2 separate regions of the Homo sapiens genome follow, and region 2 is linked to region 1. Evidence: promoter capture Hi-C in human tissues and cell types (Jung and others, 2019). All regions are on one chromosome and are shown on one strand. Each heading gives the region's core, a stretch centred on a gene start or on the middle of the fragment in contact. The rest is flanking DNA. Distances are from core to core; before and after follow the strand shown. Region 1 holds the start of CHRM1 (cholinergic receptor muscarinic 1). Region 2 overlaps SLC22A8 (solute carrier family 22 member 8).

What was found. Contacts are between HindIII fragments. The study calls those that stand out against the background at their distance.
Region 2: a fragment that was not itself captured here is called in contact with the fragment with the promoter of CHRM1 in region 1 in 2 of the 25 tissues and cell types used here (spleen and thymus).

The regions. Positions count from the first base shown.
Region 1 is chr11:62,919,958-62,922,657 of GRCh38, reverse strand. It overlaps CHRM1 (cholinergic receptor muscarinic 1), which reads left to right and starts at 1,295. Exons shown (of 2, transcript NM_000738.3): 1 at 1,295-1,440. It overlaps LOC105369333 (a long non-coding RNA gene), which reads right to left and starts at 2,498. Exons shown (of 5, transcript XR_002957251.2): 1 at 2,217-2,498. RefSeq lists an enhancer at 437-971. The HindIII fragment of the contact is 6,896 bases long and covers 1-2,700 here.
Region 2 is chr11:62,991,864-62,994,722 of GRCh38, reverse strand. It overlaps SLC22A8 (solute carrier family 22 member 8), which reads left to right. Exons shown (of 11, transcript NM_004254.4): 8 at 1-181; 9 at 845-953; 10 at 1,096-1,299; 11 at 1,387-1,899. The coding sequence ends at 1,486. Among named protein-coding and RNA genes, the nearest start is that of SLC22A6, 8.3 kb to the right of the region's middle. The HindIII fragment of the contact is 7,404 bases long and covers 1-2,859 here.

The DNA.
Region 1 (2,700 bases), core at 46-2,545:
CTTCGACACAGCCCAGTGGGCAAAGAACACAGCAGCCCCAGAAGGCAGTCCCTGCAGCCTCCAACTCTCCTCCCCAGTCAGCTCCCGGGGAGGTCTCTAGGGCCAAACAGAGGCGGTGCAGGACCCACATCTCTAGGGCAAACGGCCCCCCAGGGGTTCTATCTCTGAGGAAGCTCAACACAGAAGTCCAGACCAGCCTGGCAGGGAGGGATGCTGGCCTCACCCAGTAGGGCTGAGGGAGATTGGGAGGAGGGCTCATCTCCTCCCAGGTACACACCTGTGAGCCCTGAGTGGGAGTCAGGGGAGACAGAGCTTGACAAGCTGGGAGGAGAGCTGTCTGTCTGCCTGTCTGTCTTCCAAGTGGAAGCTTGGGGTGGAGCAGGCAGGTAGAGGCTGCCTCACTTGTCAGAATTAGCAAGTTCCACAGTTGGGCAACACTCAGCCACACATCAGATACAGACACACGTGTGCACACGCGTCCTGCCTCCAGACTGATAGGGTCACACCTGCACTTACACAGGCTGCATGGTGACATGAGTACACAGGGACACACATATGCAAGGCACTCAGCCGCACATGGGGCAGGCACCTGGCCCTCTACTCATCCCCGAAAAGCAGACACCCATATACCCTCACAACAGGCTATGCATAGCCCAATGCTAGCGCACACAGCCCAGCATGCGGGCACGTTCACTCAGCCCCCGGGCGGGTGCGCCAGCCCTCTGGGTCTGTTCCAAGTTGGAGCCTCTCACGTGAGGCCCAATGTGTCATTTCCAAACAGAAGGAATCTAGCTCTCTCACAGCAGGGAGGAAGAGCAGGGTGTGTAGTTGGGTGGGTGGGTGCGTGGGCATGTGCAGGGGGGAGGGCGTGTGTGCGAGGGAAGCAGGCATGTGAATACCAGGGCATGTGTGTTGGGGCATGGTGCACAGGGGCTGGGGGCTCTAAGGTTGGGTGGGGGGAGGAGCCCAAGGAAACAGTGTGCCTTTGTGAGGGTGTGTGTGCCGCCGGGTCTGTGCAGTGGGTGTGGGTGTTTGTCTCCCTGTATCCGCCTTCTCTCCCGTCCGGGACTTTTAGCCTTCCTGGGCTCGCCTTCCTCATGTCCTTTCTCCTCCCTCTTGGGGCTCAAATTGGGTGCCCTGGTGAAGGAGGGGGGCACACTCCAGAACCTAGTCCAACCCCAGACGCTGCCTGAGGCTTCCCTCCAGCTCCCCTCCCTTCCTTTTCTCCCTTTCCTCCCTCCCTCTCTTTCCCTTTCTCCCTCCCCGCTAAGGCTGGCGTGCCAGGGGGTGGGACATGCCAATCACTGGCTGTGCCTCTCCCGCTGCCAGCACAGGGCGCAGCTCCCCCTGGGAGCCAGGTGTTTGGGTCCCTGGAGACGCCGCAGGCCCCCAGGGAGGCAGTGGGGCTGAGGACCCTACAGACCCCTCTTCAGCCCCGTGGTGAGTACATTTGGGAGGGCTTGGGAGGGGCTGCACTAAGGTAGAGGGTAGGAGGGTCCTGGGGAGCGGGGGAGGGCAGGGATCAGGATGAGATGGAAATAGGGATGGACTCACAGAGATAGGAGGAGGCCAGGGAGGGGTCTAGAGGGCAAGGGGGCTCTGTAGCATTGAACACTGACTGCTCCAAACACTCGGCCTCCTGGCTTTGAGTGGATATAGCTGATGTTTTTCTGGGCTTCTGCTGGCAGAGGAGATGGAGATCCCCCTCAGGAAACTGGACCTGAGGCCCAGAAGGGATTAGGCTGCCTGGTAGCAAGCAGAACCCCCAACACCCTAGGGGCAGAGTGGGAAGGGCAAAGGGCCAGGAAGCAGCCCTTGCCACCAGCATCCTGTGGGAGGTTGACCCCCATCTTGATGGGGGTGCCAGTCCCAGAACCTCCTGTCCTCCCTCAGGGCACCCTGAAACCCACCACCCCCGTCCACCTCAGCTCCCCCAAGATGGACTGAATCAGGCTGCTGGCCAGATAGAGAAGCTAGAAGCCAAGGTGGGTGTCAGGCCAGAAGCCAGCAGGAGACCAGGCAAAGAGCCCCAGGGCTCTTTGGGGACAAATGGGCATGTGGGTGGCCACACTAGCCAGGGAAGGTGGCCCTGACGTGCGCAGGGGCCCAGAGGACCCTCCTTATGTTTCTAGTATCTTGGGCTCCCGCAGGGTGGGTCTCAGTCCTATATCCAGGCAATGCATGGATACCAATGGGCACCCACGCCAGGTACTCACCCCAGTGCCCGCAGACTGCACAACATGGGGATGGGCTAGGGGCCAGGAACTCTGATGCTTGTAGAGTTGTCAGCTCCTGGGCAGGCCAGCTGGGGAGGGGGTCGTCAGCTCTCATTAGGTCATCCAGACATGTGCAGCTTAGAGGTTATCAGAGCCAATGGAGAGGGGTTCACATCTTTGCACAAAACACACCTGCAGCTCCACCCAGACTGACCCAAGACCCCTGCCCAACTGGCTGGAAGGAGTCAGGCAGTCTCCAGTAGCCAGACAGTCTCCTTTCTCAGGGTAATCAGCTGTTCAGTGGGCTGTCAGATGAGAGTTCTCTGCCCTCTGACCTCAGCCACCAGGCAAGCTGCAGTCGCTATCGCGGCTGAGATATGAAAGGGAAGGAGATAGTGAAATGGGCTGCAGAAGATGTGGGTCTTGGCTCGCAGCTGACAGCTGGCGGTTGGAGTTCTGAGAACTGGATTCTGAAGTGTAATGG
Region 2 (2,859 bases), core at 235-2,734, 72 kb before region 1:
ATGGGTGTGGAAGAATTTGGAGTCAACCTCTACATCCTCCAGATCATCTTTGGTGGGGTCGATGTCCCAGCCAAGTTCATCACCATCCTCTCCTTAAGCTACCTGGGCCGGCATACCACTCAGGCCGCTGCCCTGCTCCTGGCAGGAGGGGCCATCTTGGCTCTCACCTTTGTGCCCTTGGGTGAGAGACTGGGGCTACCCCAGAACCCTCTGGAAGAGGCTGCCAGGTTGGGTGCCAGGGACTTCACTGCTGGCTCTGCCTCTAAGTCACTGTGTTACCTTGAGCAGGTCCCTGCACTCTCTGGGGCTCAGGGTCTCTCTTCTAGAAAATAACGCAATTGGGCTAGATGACATGAAAGCTCCTTTCCAGATCTGACTTGGACTGGGCAAAAAGTATGGTGGTATCTGGATAGTGTGAAAATTTTTGAGGTATTGAGAGTGTCCTGAGTGACATCACTGTAGAGATAAGCTGAGATGGTAAAACGACAGAGCTCATGCTCAAGAAAGACCCCACAACCTACTCCATCATGACCTTGGAAAAGCTACGTTTATTTTATATGGGTGTTAGTTGGTTGATAACACCTATACCCTTCCAAAAGAACTTGAGGTATTTTAAGACAAGAACAAGAACATATACAACAAAATATAAATGGAAATAGAGGATCAGAGGCAGGGGAAAACACAAACATAGCAGGACACAGGCATGCAAAGCATTACTCAGCTTTAAGTTTGGATCTGAGCTTCTTGGAAGCCAAAGCAAAAAGGGAGACAAGATCAGCTAAGGAGTGAGAACTCTTAGGTGCTCCTGAACTCCAAGGCCCACCACATTTTCTTCCCTCTGCAGACTTGCAGACCGTGAGGACAGTATTGGCTGTGTTTGGGAAGGGATGCCTATCCAGCTCCTTCAGCTGCCTCTTCCTCTACACAAGTGAATTATACCCCACAGTCATCAGGTAGGTGCTGGACCTGGGGCCAGGCCCAGCCAGAGGACACAGGTCAGGTGGGACTGTGGCATTGTCCTGTCCTCTACCCAGGGGAGCCATCCTTTATGAACCCCACACACAGGCTACCAATCCCTACTCTGAACCCTCGCAGGCAAACAGGTATGGGCGTAAGTAACCTGTGGACCCGCGTGGGAAGCATGGTGTCCCCGCTGGTGAAAATCACGGGTGAGGTACAGCCCTTCATCCCCAATATCATCTACGGGATCACCGCCCTCCTCGGGGGCAGTGCTGCCCTCTTCCTGCCTGAGACCCTGAATCAGCCCTTGCCAGAGACTATCGAAGACCTGGAAAACTGGTCAGTCACTGCCTCTGGCCCCATCAGTGCTCCTCCCTGGGGAAGCAGGTCTGGGCCCAGGGCTTTTCCTTAGCTCTCTGTCCCTAGGTCCCTGCGGGCAAAGAAGCCAAAGCAGGAGCCAGAGGTGGAAAAGGCCTCCCAGAGGATCCCTCTACAGCCTCACGGACCAGGCCTGGGCTCCAGCTGAGGACAACGGAACCCCCTTTCCCTGCCCTCCAGAGACTGATCCTAGCCAGGCACCTTAGGAGTATAGGGAGGCCCCATATAGGTCCATCCTCCTAGGATGAAGCCTTCTGAGAGCTTGGTGAAGGTGTCTCCATCACCACCACCAGAGCCTCCTGCCCAGCCCTGGCCAGTTCAAAGGTTCAGCCATCCCTGCCCTTGTTCTCCCTGCAACCCAGGCCCTGCCATTCTTCTGTCTAGCCCTTCCCCACTGGCCACCTTCCCCCACTGTCCCGGTCCTCTTCCCCTGAGGTCCCCTGATATCCCCTGGCTCAGTCCTAACAAGACTGAGTCTTAACAAGATGAGAAGTCCTCCCCTTCTTGCCTCCCACACTTTTCTTTGATGGGAGGTTTCAATAAACAGCGATAAGAACTCTAGCCATGATGTTCAGGAATGGGGGTGGGATGGGAGCTGGCCACCGTGTGGACACGTGAGCATGCACATCTGTCCATCCACACTTCATGTACGACAGGCCTGTGTACAGGCACCACAGGTACATGCAAGCTGGACTGATGTGAACATGAGCAAGCACATGTGAGTGCTCTGAGGTGTGTACACCACGCCTGTGCATGAAAATACATGTGTGTGTCTACACGTCCCAGCATGCATATGAGCAGATGACTGACCAAGCCCAGAGTGGCTGCAGACAGAAGCCAGAGCCCCTCCAATCCTGATTTCTTTCCCCTGATCACCCCAAATCTCTGATCTATGTCTCAGCCCCATGCCCAGCAGATAGTTTTTCTCGTGTTAACTGAGAAAACTGCAATGGTAGCTGACCGCTGTCAATATCAGAAAACTGCAATGGTAGCTGACCGCTGTCAATATCTGCTGCCATGTTCCCGGTTCCCTCCAGCCACAGCAGAACAGCCAATCCCTCCACCAGCAGCCATCCCTTTCCCTCTGGGGTCTCTGCCCATTCCCTCTGTCTTGGCTGCCGCCCATCACCAGTTAAACAAGCTTAGGCTTCTCCCAACTTAACAAAAATCAACACAAACACATGCCAGGATGTTGTATCTCCTTCCAAGGGCCACACTGGCTCTTTCTCCCCTTCGAAGCCAGACTTCATAAAGGAGCTGTCTGCCTCCCCTGTATCCACCTTCTAGCCTCATACATCTCCCCCACTGCACTCCGGCTCCTACCCCTTCCCTCCCTGGAACCGCTTTCACCAAGGACGCTCATCCCCTCCCTGTGCTGGATCCATAAGTCACTCTTCAGCCCTCCTCTTACTGGCCTTTTGGCAAATTTGGTCCTACTGGTCACTCTCTTCTTCCTTAGTTTCTGAGAGGCCACGTGTTTGCAGCTCCCCCCCACACACTGGCTACTCCTTCTCAGGCCCC